Regions from separate parts of the Homo sapiens genome. Here all the other regions are linked to region 5. Evidence: promoter capture Hi-C in 16 types of primary human blood cells and fetal thymus (Javierre and others, 2016). All regions are on one chromosome and are shown on one strand. Each heading gives the region's core, a stretch centred on a gene start or on the middle of the fragment in contact. The rest is flanking DNA. Distances are from core to core; before and after follow the strand shown. Region 1 has its middle 43 kb from the start of PLEKHG7. Region 2 overlaps LOC105369896 (a long non-coding RNA gene). Region 3 overlaps LOC105369896 (a long non-coding RNA gene). Region 4 overlaps LOC105369896 (a long non-coding RNA gene). Region 5 holds the start of BTG1 (BTG anti-proliferation factor 1).

What was found. Contacts are between HindIII fragments. The CHiCAGO score rates a contact against its expected background, and 5 or more counts as called.
Region 1: a fragment that was not itself captured here is called in contact with the fragment with the promoter of BTG1 in region 5 in 3 of 17 cell types (M2 macrophages, M1 macrophages and total B cells); the score reaches 5.7 in M2 macrophages.
Region 2: a fragment that was not itself captured here is called in contact with the fragment with the promoter of BTG1 in region 5 in 14 of 17 cell types (naive CD4 T cells, total CD4 T cells, naive CD8 T cells and 11 more); the score reaches 26.8 in naive CD4 T cells.
Region 3: a contact is called between a fragment that was not itself captured here and the fragment with the promoter of BTG1 in region 5, in 2 of 17 cell types (activated CD4 T cells and total CD4 T cells). The highest score is 6.0, in activated CD4 T cells.
Region 4: a contact is called between a fragment that was not itself captured here and the fragment with the promoter of BTG1 in region 5, in 9 of 17 cell types (non-activated CD4 T cells, M2 macrophages, naive CD4 T cells and 6 more). The highest score is 15.8, in non-activated CD4 T cells.

The regions. Positions count from the first base shown.
Region 1 is chr12:92,658,226-92,660,925 of GRCh38, forward strand. No RefSeq gene overlaps it. Among named protein-coding and RNA genes, the nearest start is that of PLEKHG7, 43 kb to the right of the region's middle. The HindIII fragment of the contact is 973 bases long and covers 838-1,810 here.
Region 2 is chr12:91,383,095-91,385,794 of GRCh38, forward strand. The region is part of intron 4 of LOC105369896 (a long non-coding RNA gene); the gene reads right to left. Among named protein-coding and RNA genes, the nearest start is that of LINC02823, 58 kb to the left of the region's middle. The HindIII fragment of the contact is 3,526 bases long and covers 1-2,700 here.
Region 3 is chr12:91,561,314-91,564,108 of GRCh38, forward strand. All of the region lies in intron 1 of LOC105369896 (a long non-coding RNA gene), which reads right to left. Among named protein-coding and RNA genes, the nearest start is that of LINC02823, 240 kb to the left of the region's middle. The HindIII fragment of the contact is 3,807 bases long and covers 1-2,795 here.
Region 4 is chr12:91,579,171-91,581,870 of GRCh38, forward strand. All of the region lies in intron 1 of LOC105369896 (a long non-coding RNA gene), which reads right to left. Among named protein-coding and RNA genes, the nearest start is that of LINC02823, 250 kb to the left of the region's middle. The HindIII fragment of the contact is 1,797 bases long and covers 439-2,235 here.
Region 5 is chr12:92,144,453-92,147,152 of GRCh38, forward strand. It overlaps BTG1 (BTG anti-proliferation factor 1), which reads right to left and starts at 1,394. Exons shown (of 2, transcript NM_001731.3): 1 at 936-1,394. The coding sequence starts at 1,083. BTG1-DT (BTG1 divergent transcript) reads left to right here and starts at 1,633. Exons shown (of 3, transcript NR_135036.1): 1 at 1,633-1,791; 2 at 2,210-2,310. RefSeq lists enhancers at 1-35, 56-105, 366-415, 375-911, 1,746-2,045 and a silencer at 836-1,155. The HindIII fragment of the contact is 11,880 bases long and covers 1-2,452 here.

The DNA of each region.
Region 1 (2,700 bases), core at 74-2,573, 510 kb after region 5:
AGATTCTGATGCAATAGTTCTGGGTAGGGCCTAAGATTTTGCGTTTCTGACAAACTCCCAGGTGACACCAATGCTGCTATTCTATGAACTACAGTTTCAACAAGGTCTTACCCGACGGCTTCCAAATTTCCTTCTCCTTTTCCTTCTCCATGGAGAGCCCTCTTCAGAGGGACTCTTAAGAATTATCTCATCCTATTCCATTTATTACTCTACAGGGAGAGGCAACCTAACCTGGCTTTAACCATAACTACTTGCACAATGAGGAGGAGCAGATTTCCCATCTCTGATTCGCAGATGGGAAACACTGTGGCAGGTAAGGGATTTCATCAGGGCTGCATGGCAAGTAGCTGAATTCCGTAACATATGAAGAATTGCTTCCATTTCTACATTTCTTGTTAAAAGACTCAGAGGATGTTGAGCACTTAGAAACAAGCTGAAGAGCATGTCTGGCCTGAGCCCGATGAAAGTCAGAGTCAATAGCGTAAGCAAAGGACCAGGCACATTCCCTGTTCCTTTCCCTGGTCTCTGCTTCTCATTTCTTAATCTTTGCTCATACTCAACCAGGCTACCAGCAATCTGGAGACACATATGGATGGAAAAGATGCCAAGGGAAGCCCTCCCCTCCTTCCATGATTACTGTCCTTCATTGCAAAAGAAACTCTTTTTAAATATGCCTGGAAAGCAGTACCTGTTGTTTTTTATGTGGGTAAAGGCCAGTGGTATGCTACAAATGTTTAACAACTGACCATCAAAAAAAAAAACAAAACAAAAAGAGGCCCTCTTTTGTAGCATTTGCCAGTTTCCATGGTGTAAATACTCTCACTCTGGCCAATATCAAGCTTCCAACATGACTTTACTGAACATGGAATTAGAAAGATATGAGGCCAGTGACTCTCACAAGCTAGTATGAGCCGGCCGCAGTTCATCATGATAAAGCCTATAATTTTATCATCAGGCAAAATTAAAACTGTAGATTCAGAAAAGATTTACACCTGTTTGATCAACCTTCTCATCATCACGTCCCTTTACTACCAAAGTAAGTTGACCTGCCATTGCTCTTTAACAGTTGGTAGTTTTTCTTTAATGCAAGGTATTTAGCAGAAACCACCACATAAATTAAGCCCTTGTCCTATAGATAGCTTTTACAAAGAGCTTTCCTTGATCCCTATTGAATTATTGCCCTGGACCAGAGAAATACAATGCCCTTCCCAACAGTTTAATGTATTTAGTAACCCTCTGGAAAGAGAAAAATAACAAAACAAAACATTACAATTTTACATGTTGAAATTAAAATGAATCAAAACTTTTTTTTTTTTTTTGAAACAGGGTCTCACTCTGTTGCCCAGACTGGAGTGTAATGGCCCATTCATGCCTCACTGCAGTTTCAACCTCCTGGGCTCAAGCAATCCTCCCGCCTCAGCCTCTTGAGTAGCTGGGACTACAGGCACATGCCACCATGCTCAGCTAATTTTTTGTCTTTTTAGTAGAGACAAGGTTTCACCATATTGCCCAGCCTGGTCTTGAACTCCTGGGTTCATGTGATCTTCCCACCTTGGCCTCTCAAAGTGCTGGGATTACAGGCATAAGCCATCACACCTGGCCCTCGAACTTTTTATTATGTTCTAGTTATACATTGTATGAAACTTTTTCAGGCATTGAAATAAATGCCTTTATACCACTTAAAGGAAATGAGAAAATTTTTTGTACAAGAACAAAAAGATCATATGGCTGTGTTGAATGACAATATTTCTTAAAAATTTATTAGTGATCAATTTCTATTCATTTAAGAATAGTTTGAAGTTAAAATGTAAGCTTTAGGAGATATGTATTCTTTGACAGATTTTAAGGGTTATGGAAATCAAAACAAGTTTGGTAAGTGGCTATAGTAGATTGCCAAAATTTTCACAAATTATTCCCTTCCTTAACAGCTACGTCCTTTGCAATATAGCTTTGCAATTTCTCCCATCAACAGGTGGAGTTGGTCTTGTGCCTTCTTTGGCCAATGGAATGTGACAAAGCAGCATTGCAGTTCAAGCCTAGGCTTTAAGAGACCTTTTGGGATTTCCTAATTGCTACAAAAAAAACCTGACACCAGGTGAGTAAACCCAGGGTAGCCTACTGGGGGATGAGAGACCACCTGGGACAAAGATGAACCATCCCAGGTAAGCTTTGTACCCCAACCACCACGACACACCAGCCAGGCTCCAGCTGACCTAGCACCTTCTCACACCTGAGCCCAGCTCAAATCGCCAAACCACAAATTCTTCCAAAATGGGATGTTGATTTACACCAGGGGTATCCTATCTTTTGGCTTCCCTGGACCACAAGGGAAGAATTGCCTTTGGCCACACATAAAATACACTAAGGATAGCTGATGAGCTTTAAAAAAATTGCAAAAAAAATCTCATAATGTTTTAAGAAAGTTTGCAAATTTGTGTTGGGCCACATCCAAAGCCATGCTGGGCTGCATGTGGTCCCGTAGGCCATGGGTTGGACAAGCTTGATTTATGCCATTGAGCTTTGTAGTGCTTTAATAGCTAAAACTAATTGATATAGTCACCTATATCAGGAAATACTCAAAATACACCCCAACCATATGCTGTATGTAGACCTTTTTGGAGGCTGATTGAAACCAAACCAACTTCTTAAGATAACTGAGGAAATTTAAAATGGTATGAGTATTAGACAATATTGAGGAAT
Region 2 (2,700 bases), core at 183-2,682, 760 kb before region 5:
TTCCTTTGACAATAATAATTATAATAATAAAAGAAAAAGAAAAATCCACCTAGGAATTGTATTCCTAAACAACGAAATCTCCAGATGACTACGGATATGTAGTTTTCAACATGCAATATCTGGAAAGAATGTGGGTTCTGTTTCTTTGCAGTAATTCTGTGTGTTTTATAGTCTTTGCTTTATCATCCTGGCCTAGAGCCAGTTAAAGAAATTCATCACCAAATGTGCAACAACCCATGAGAGGGAGTCCAGCATTGAGTTTGGAAATAGAATGAGGTGATTGTAGAGGAAGAGGCCGAGGCTGTCAGTGATGTATTTCCCTATCTCCCTGAGCCTGTCAGCTATTGAGTTGCTCAAGTCCCAGCCCTGACACCTAGCTGCCCCTGTGCCACCATCAGGATGCCCAGTGAGAGAAGAAGAGATGGGGAAATGGAAAGAAATCATCCTGTCCCACCTGCCCATGCAGTAAAGAAGACAAGGAAGAATTTGTAGAAGCCAGGGGTGGAGAGTCTTCCCCCAGAGGAGAGAGGCTCATTGGTCATAGGCCCTAGGGCAGTGGAACCACAGCCCTGGTCCTCAGATGAATGTGGGAGAAGGCAGGATGACTCCAGAGTTGAATATTAGATGTCAGGAGCCCGCAGAAGTGAGAGATGGCTACCAGGAGATGGGACCACAGCTGGGTTCGTTCCAAACATGACCAAAGATTCCCACCTGAGACTGGTACACAAGCACTTGAGAACTGCCAGATGTCAAGGGGATCTTCTGGATAGTGAAAAAATCAGAAGTGACCATGTTAGCCAGAACATCAGCTTCTTCCCTATTTTCATGAAGATTTAAGGCTCCCAGTCTCTGGTGCTATTTTGAAAAGGCTAGAGGAATTCTTGGCAATATGGTAGAATTGAGTCTTGGAGTTAAAACTACGTTAGATTAAGATAAATAATACAAAAGCCATTTCTAACATATCTGAGATTTGCATTATACAAAAGACCATAGTTTATATTTTCTAACAACTGTGTTATTTATCACTGCATTCGTTCCTCAGTACAATCCTATAATGGAATTAGGACAGGTGTCCTGATCCATTTATGCCTAGTGTTCCATTATTGGAACGCTAAGCATCTGGGAGTTATTTATATCCTGCTGCTCAAGGTCATCACCAAGATCTGATTGCAAAAATTCAAAAAATTGCAGCTTCAGGCACAAATGGGTTAATTAGCATTAACAAAGCAAGCCCTTCTGACTTTTATGTTATTCTTCACAAAACTCTCTGGGATTTGTCATTATTATATTAAGTAAACATTTTGAAGTTTTGTAAACACTAAGTTGAGGGACTTGGCAAAGATCATTCAGGCTCTGTCTTCTGTGCTGAAACAAAATTGATAATTGAGATACTTTTCTGAGTAATTTTATTATGAAATCCTCCTCTTATCAGAAATACCTGCATCATGTTTCATTGCTAATTTTGGAAACAGAACAACAGACCTTTGAGAGAGCACTGGCTTGGAAACTAGATTTTGAGATTAACTGTTATGTAAGGACTTAGGATTTTGCTAGTTACAGGTGCCAGGGAGAAATTGGTCATAGCTAGGAAGCTAAAAAATGGAAGCCAAGCTATATAAAAGACAAGATCCCGTAGCCATGCACTAGGTAAAGGGTATGGTCATGAGGACTGGAAGCCCAGTAATTCCAAAATTAGGTGGAAGTGATTTTACAAAAAAGTCTATAATTGTGACGGTATGGATAGACAAGAAATCAAGAATCCTGAGTAGCACAGCTAGAACTGGAAATGGTAAGTAGCAAATTTATAAAGTCTAGAAAGTTAGCAGCAAATCTTGGTTATGAATGGCCTAAGTCATATGAAATCCAGATCCTCACAAAGGGAACTGAAGCACCAAAATGGAGGAGGAGTCAATATTGAGGAAATAACTACTTCCTAGGAACCTAGTGTAGAAGTGCAAACAGCTGTGGATTCTCAGTTCTAGATCAGGAATCATAAGTGAGGGGCACTCCTACCATTGTCCTTTCATTCACATTTGTCAGCCACCAGGCATCACCAGTGAAACACAGCACCCTTTTCTGTGACATCTGGAAGCGGCCTTAATATCTTTCTCAATACAGTGACCCAAGAAACCACAGGAAATCAATTGGAATTACAGTTTTGGGTGTATATTAAGCAAACAACTTAATGTAGCCTATAGGAGAATTAGAGTCACAGTTCTATAGAGTAGGGTGACTATACGTCGCACATGTCCCAGAATGTTTTTTGTTTACATCTCTTGTTACAACATAATTAATAGCACCCCATTCACTCTCAAAGGTGTCCCAAGTATGGACTATAAATTATATTGTCCTTCTGTTTATGGGGAAAATAGTCAGACATCCAAGCCCTACTTCTGACTGACCATGTAATCTTAAGGCTATGTAAAACCACTGAATCAAGTTACTGAAGAAAACAGATACCCTGTATATTTGGTACCATGGAGATCACATTTGTTTTATGCATATGCATGATCTGTTTATGGATTATGGGTCTCAAATTCCCTTCTAAGAGAAATGAATACCTACATTCAAAACTAAAAGGGAGTGATCAGTGACATAAAAAATACTCAATGTGTTTTGTGATCCTTGAGATCAGAGGCTATGAAATGAAGTAAAGAATATTTTACTTAATATTGTTATATACATTGCAAGAAACATTAC
Region 3 (2,795 bases), core at 269-2,768, 580 kb before region 5:
GAATAATCAACAACGTGAAAATTCTTATTTAAAATAGAATTAAAGCACTCTAGAAGCAAGGGACACAACAATTAGTCTCTATAGCAACTGGATATTATACAAGGAAAACGGTGAGCATGAAGGAGAATTTGGGAAGAGGTAAGAACAATTCATGTGAATTGTGAAGAGTCCTACAAGAAAGCCAGATTGTTCCCTGGGGTCTCTTTGAGGGCAGGGAGAGAGAATGAAAATACAGATAATGAGGATGACTCTTGGCAGGTAAATGTTTGTAAAAGTAATGTCATTGTTTATAAAAGTAATGTCATAATGGAAAGGCTGCAGAGGTGAGGGGTTAAATCCAGGAAGGGAGGTGAATGGAAACTTGAAATTTGGAAATTTTGAATAGTTTGATCTTAGCACAAACCATTTACAATAACTTTCAATATAAAAATTGAAACATGATATATAAGTATATGACTATTTTTCAGCATATGCTATGCATTATAATTTGGAAGAAGGCCTAGATCTCTATGTAATAGTAGAATCTCGCCTATAACTATGTCTAACATGAGAGGCAGAAGGTTTAATAAAATATTTTTAAATTGCCATTAGTCCTGCCTTCACTCATTTAGTTTCAATGAATGACATTTCTAGTTTAAAAAAATAGCATATGAAAATTTCCTCCAATGAAATACCATATTTAGTCCATAATATAAGATAAAATTTAAAAGATTTATGAAACCCAATTTTGGCAATGATGCAGGGAAATGAGTACTCACATACATCATAAATTGTCGGTAGGAGTATCTTTCAGCTTAGCAACACTTAAATGGTGTATGGTTTTTAACTCAGCACTTTCATACCAGAGAAATATTTGCACTTATGTAGTACAAGGATCCTTAAAAGAGGAAAGAGAGAGGCAGAAGAGTGAGAGTCTGAGAAGAATATGTGACTGTGCAAGTAGATGATGGGATCACCGTTCACTTTGAAGTATGGGGCAAGGAATGCAGGCATTCTCTAGAAGCTGGAAAAGACAAGGAAAGGAAAACTCCCCTAGAGCCTCCAGAGGGCACAGCTCATTCTTTATTATTTCAGCCCAGTGAGATCTATGTTCAATTTCTGACCTCAATATTCTAAGAAAATAAATTTGTGCTGTTTTAAGCCTTACATTTGTGGTAATTTGTTATAGCAGAAATAGGAATGTTGTGATTTTTAGTGTGCAAGAGATGTGATGTAATCTAATTGCCAATATATGGTTGGCTGCTTTCCTCAAAGCATGTTACCCCATTTGGGGTTCAGTTTCACTTTCTGTTCCTGGAAGATCAGACCTGCACTGGAAGCAATAGTTAGGCCAGTGCTGGTGAGAGGGAGCCCAAGCTGTTGAGTCAACGAATAGCCTCTGTCTCTACCATAATGAGAACAATATTCATGAACCTATTTTGCTAGCATTAAGATGGCTGAGGACAGAATCCAGCTGACATCAGCTAGTGAAGTCATTCTCTCCACTTGGTTGCTTAGTGCCTCTTCTACAATGGCATTAAGAAGTAGTATAGTGATGCTAATACTTTCTGTTCATTTCCATAAGTCCATACACATTTTTCCCCTCCTTGAACTTCTGATTTCACTCATTATAGGCTCTTCAACAGGGAGCTAAGTTATTTATTGCTCATGAGTTTATGTATACCCTTACTTAAGGCTGCTTCTCTCTCCACATTAAGTGAATGACCAGATGTACTTTCCAATACTCTCCCAGTTGATAGGATTTTCCTCCATCACTATCTTCCAGGACCATCCTTGCCTGGAACTTTGTTGCAGAAAAACAAAATTCCATCTTACAAACATATTTTAAGTTGGCCCTTTCATGAGCTCAGTTTGGGCCTTTTCTTCCTCTCGCAGCTGATAGCTCATGAAGCCACAGGAATGAGTCGAAAGAGTGGTGTCATACAGTTGGCATAAATACGTGGGTCATCTTTTTGTGAAGATTACTGTAATCTCTAGCATGTTCAATTCCAATCCTTCATGTATAATAGCCATCTTATGATAAATTGCTGATTAGCCTACCTCACCTTGTATCTTGGTTGGTCTTATAGTAGTCAGTACATGAAGGTTACTTGAGTTTCCATAGTCAGACATTTTTTTTTTTATCATGGCATTGTAGCATGTCATGAGCTGCTTTTCAAATGATACATAAGTTCTTTTCTGCAGATGGCAAGGCCTAGTTCCATAATCTCAGAGGTCTGTGCTGTGATTCTCCTACTAGGCTTGCCAGGGGCTCCATTTGGTATTTTTGTTTCCCACAGATGCCGCTAACCATGGCACTGCCAGGTTATATGCCTTATGTGGCATAGCTCCTCATATCTGTTAAAGTGGTCTTTCTTCCCTGGCCTCACTCAAAGTGAGCAGTTCCACATCTTTCCCAATACATGTGTCAATGCAATATTTACAAGTTCAAAATATGCTATCCACCAATGGATGTCAATATCAAAGGGCAAAATTTTGAAGAGAAACAGTATGTTGGCATAACCTCGAAGTAGCTTTCCAAAGATATTTATCAATTATAAAGAGAATGTAGTAACTTTATAGTGGTGAAACTCAGCAGATACCACCTATACCAGATAATCAAGGTTAACACACTAGCAATGCGGCACATCAAAATATTGTGCTCCCTGGTATAGCGTACTGACAAAAAGACAACACTTCTGTGGTATCCTTGCCAAAAAATGCATAATCTCCGTATGATCATGACAAAACATCAGACAAATCCAAATATTCAACAAAATGACTTATTAGAGCTCATCAAAAGTGTCAAGGCCATG
Region 4 (2,700 bases), core at 87-2,586, 570 kb before region 5:
CACACACACACACACACACAGGCACACACACAACACCACCACCATCACCACTGACATCACCTCACCCCCACCACCTCCACCCCTCCTGTAATCAAAACAGCTTTCTACCAACAGAAAAGGGACAACAGGCAAGTTAAAATTGAAATTGGTCTTTGAACAGCAGAAACAAAATAGAAGATTGCAGATTAGAGCCATTGTCTTGTCCCAGTAATATAAACCAGACCCCCCTCAGTGCTTATTTTCTCAGAATTGAAGAAGATAAATCAAAGATTATGAGCCTAACCAAAAAGAGGCATCCTTATGCTAGTGGCTTTTACAGTCATAAAAAGAGCAAAGCCAGAAGTGAGTATTTTCAATTGTCATTTGTAATAATTAGTAAAAATACTGCAGTTTTCTGTCATAAATCCTGTTGTACGTGGAGGGATTTATTAATCTTTAAGCTTTGGTATTTATTGTAGACGCTACTTATACAGAGGAAACATAAAACTAAAGGACTCAGCTTGATTTTCCTAATTCCTGAAGGTAGAATAAAATCAGAGATGCCAAAGATCTGAAAGAAACATGTGCTTGAACAGCCTGGATAGAAGCTCATTTAAAATCAGCAATATAATTCACAGTGGGGTTTGGATGGAATACTTTAACTGACCTAGTGGTCTTAGTTTCAGAGAAAATCCGTCATACAGTCTAAACTTAGTAAATATCTGAATATCTATCATATGCCTAACAAATGGCAAATATTGATTAACTTAAATATTATAGAGTTGAACTTAGATGATGAGATAATTCTTTGCATTGTTAAGCAATAAAAAACATTACTAATTTGTAGGCCAAGACAGAAAAATGATTCAGAGTGAATGCAAAGGAGATGATGAATTAAGATGATCTGATCCTTCCTGTCATAAAAAATAATCACCATTTTTCTAACCCAAATAAGAGCCACACTGAAAAGGGCTGAAATGCAGCTCTCTTTTACTTGGTGCATATACTTAATGTCAAGTCAAGAAAGCCAGTCCTGTACCTGTATATGCCTTACTGTGTATCCATTTACAGTTGCTGATCTATGTTTACAGGCTACTCTATCTCTTAGAATGTGCTTCAGTATGTTATATATGTACTTAATATATACCAGTAATACCCATTTGTTTGAAGATAGAATATGCATGTGAAGAATTAGCTGTAATATTTTGGAAATATAATTAAATTTGCATTCTAAATACTTGCATTTAAATCTCAGCTTTGATTGTTACTGACAGTAAAACCTTAGACAATTAATTGTGCTTCTCTAATCTTCAGCTCCCTCATCTGTAATGTGAAGACAATTATGTTTTTAAGAGATGTTGGGAGGAAAGAAAGAAAACACGTACAATGGATCCAACACAGTGCACAGCAAATAGTTGAATATCCATGTATGTGTGTATATGTATGTGTATATATACATAACTTTGAATGATCAAAGCAATATATATTCATTGAGTAATTTTGCAAGGAAGCAATATTGAATTATTTAACATTTAACAATAAAGGAAAAATATAGCTTTTTAATTTCTTAGAACAATTACTTATTTACTTGACTTAAAGGATGATAATGACCCATAATTTTTGTATATGTATAGTTATTTGCATTGAATGGGTAGTATTCAAATTAATTTTCAATTGTTGAATCAAACAAATATGTTTGAATGCTTATTTTATGTTTAATAACAGAAGAGGGGAAAGAATTATTTCAGCAGTTTATTGTCTTCCAGGAGATTTCAAAGTTTTGGGAGAGATGATACATTAAAGAAACACTTATAAGACACTTAGTAATTATCTTATTATATCAGATGTAAGTGTTCTAGGAGGCAAAAAGAAATGTTGGTAAATTAAGAACAGTTACTGCTTTTATGTGCATTTATAAAATGGCAAAAATCTGTTTATTTTATGAAAGAAAATTCTTTATGAATATCTAATATGAAATTATGATCTCTTGAAATATCTTCTATACATTTAGGAGAATAATGTTTCTTGAAGTAAGTATTTTTTGACAGTGCTAAAAAACTCAAATCTCAGTAGGTTTACAGTTGAAAATAATTTAAAAGAAACAGCAAAAAAGATGAACATCTTCAGAGAAATATACTTGTAACAAGTTAATATCTTTAAAAACTACATATACAAAATAGTAATGTATAGAACATATTTTCAAGTTATAGTTCTGTGAGAAAATTAAAAATGTGGAATCACGGTCCTTTTTTTACAAGCTTTGAATTACCATTTTTAAAACTGGTGGTGAAAGCTGATTGATTTTACTAGAGTTTTAGTTTGCTATTTTTGAGAAAATTCTGACTGAAGGAAATATAGGTTTTATATACTCTGGACAAGAAGGAAGAAACCCAGCTTTTTCTTTGTGTAGAATCTCAAGTCCAGATGCTGTTTTTTTTCTTCATGAAAATTCATAGTGTATCTATTATAGCTTCCTAATTAAAGTCACACATGTATGAATAATGTTTTGAAAATCAGTCACTATCCACTTTACATATGTTAACATATATTATGTTTTAGAGTCATTTTTTGCCAAAGAGCTCAGGGTGCTACATAACTTACATGAAGTAGCAGTACTACTAATGTTTTGCTCATTGATTAGCTTCAGGAATTTTATAATGATGAAAAGTGAAAAAGCTAGAGTTTAATATTTTCTAAAACCCAATTAAATTCTGTGACTAT
Region 5 (2,700 bases), core at 144-2,643:
GAAGAAAAGAAGAACAGAGAAACAACGCTTAGGATCGTTAGCTCCCACTGCGGATTCCTCCTACCCCAGGCTCCTTTGAGGAGCGAAAATGAAAACTATCAACTTTTTAAAATGTCCAGGATTGCATCCGTTGTTGTGCATGTGCGGGGATGGAAAAAGCGGGCAGGGTTTTAGAAATAACACAGTAGTACCGGACAAAACAATCTCCAGGAACCAACCGGTTGAGCCGCCAAAACAGGAATCAGGCGCGCAGCCTCGGCCAGTCGGGAAGCCACTGGCACCTATGGCCAGGCGAGAAACTGTTTACTTTCTCCACCCCACCCCAGATGCACACAATGGAGTTGATGGCTTTGGAGATGAGAAGCGCCACCGGACTGTTAACCCCGAAGGGAAGAAAAACAAGCAACCCTAAACCACGCTCTGGGCAGGGCTGTTAATTGTGCCGGTGACAAATCCGATGATTAATGGGCAGGGGCAGGAGGCGCGGGGAGACGGCACGTCCGTTCTGAGCTGGCTCCGGGGCAGCGGCGCAGCTTCCCACCCCGGGGCTGGGCCGCCGACCACGCAACGGTTGGAGGGGGCTGAGGAAAGGGGACGTCGAACCCACCCCAGCCCCACGGCTCCTTTGTCCCCAAATCCGCCGACGGTCCTCGGACCGCAGCTCCCGCCTCGGTGGGCTTAAGTTTCTTTGTTGTGCGTGTTGTCTTCTCCTCTCCGTTTTGCCAGCTGGGGGGAAGGGGGCGCCCTCCGTCCAGCCCCTAAAGCCTCGCGGGGAACCGCTGTTAGCGGCCACCCAGCGCAACCACACCGGTCCCGCGGCGGGGCCCAAGCGCGACCGGCCCCGGGGCGCTGCCGAGGTTCCCGCAGCCCCGACGGCCGGACTCTGACCCAGGGATGTGGGGCCCGCGTCCCTCCGACGCCCTCGCCCTGCTCACCTGCCAGCAGCTCCTGCAGGCTCTGGCTGAAGGTCTGCAGCTGTCGCTCGCTCGTGAGCCCCTTGGTGCGGAGAAACTTGGAGATGAAGGACACGGCGGCGGCGATCTCGCCTATCATGGTGGCGGCCCGGGTGTAGAAGGGATGCATGGGGGCGGCGTGCGGGGGCGGCCCGGGGCGGCTGGGGCTCGGCGGCGCGGCCCCGACGGCGGAGCAGCCACCCCGGGCTTCCTCACCGGGCGGAAGGCTGAGAGGAAGAGAGGGCGTGAGGGGCGGACGACTACTTTTGTCTTTCTTTCTTTAGACTAAAAAAGTTATTTTCGAGACAGGAGGCGGCAGGAGAGAGGAAGAGACGAGCGATGGCGGCCTGGTCACATCGCTCGGACCTCCCCAGCTGCCTCCGCCTCCAGCTCCGCAGCATTCGAAGATCTCAATAGCTGCATTTCCAGCTCCGAGAGGCGAAGAGATGCAAGCGCCGTGCAGCACCCTTTATAGTGCCACGAAAAGGAAGTGGCGTAGCTGGAGCGTGATGGCCGACTCCAGCCAATCCGAATATCGCACCATTGTGACGCAAGCCGGTTCGGAGCCGAAAGGGGCGGGAAAAGAGTTCAGGAGGCGGGTCCAGAGATAGGGAAGAGAGGGAGGAGCTGACGTAATCCGCTTGTAAACAAATAAACCCGGAGTGGCGGCTGGAGACCCAGTTGCTTGTGTCGAGGGAGGGAGGGAGGGAACAGAGGGTGCGCGTGTGAAAGCTCCGCCCCCAGCCCTAGCTCCTCCTTCCCGCTTCAGCAGGTCCAGGCTCTGCGCCAGTGCATCCTTCTCCAAGAGTGCGCTGCCTGGGCCCGCTTGCCCTGGAGTGTAAGTGCTGGGTAAATAAGAACCGCCTGGCGCAGGCTGTGTCTACTCTTCACGCCGCCTTCTCAGATCGGGCTGCATGTCCCCACTCCGTGTTTACATCTCGTTCCCGCTCCGGGTCTCGGTGACTGGCTCCTCAAGCCGGAGACGCGTGTGGTGCGGCGCGATGCGGGCGCCAGCGCTGTGTGTGCTGGCGGTGCGCTGCCTTAGTGCGGGGGAAAGTGGAGGGAACGGTCCTGCGGGGCGTTCTGTCCAAGAAAAAGGACTGCAGCCTCGGGGAGCCAGGGTCCCCTCGCAGACGAGCTGCCAACGCCGCGGAGCCATTTCTGTTCCACCCTAGGGGAGGAGTAGGGGGATATCTTTTAAAAGTTTAATTGCAAAATAAGTAGGTTAGTAAGGCCATTTGTGGTTGCTGTTTCAGTAACTTCAGCAGTCAACGGAGAGAAGAGTGGAAACCTTACTGGATGCGGACAGGAGAGCCAGTTACTGAAAGCAGATATAACGCGGATCCTGTAAAGAGTGGTGTGTATCCAAAAAAAAAAAATCTGTACAATGTATTTTAAAACTTGTGTGCACAAAACTGAAGATTTTCTTTTTTACCTAGTCCAAATGCCGTCCTAGCCTGAGTCCTGCTCTTTATAAAAATAAAATAAAAAGAATTTGAAGCTTGTGAAAGTATTAAGTGTAGACATTCAAGTTTATTTGAAACCCTACCAAAAAAAAAAAAAAACAACCTTAAAAACCAGTGTAACAGGAAGGCGGGAGCCTGCTAAAACGATTAGGCCTAAGACAGGGTTAACCCCAACTCCATTAAGGAGAAGGGGGAAAAGAAAAAAAGAAAGATGAAGGGAGGCAGGCAGATGGAGAAAGCAAACAGGAGGCAGAAGTTGAACTCTACCAGATGGAAATAAA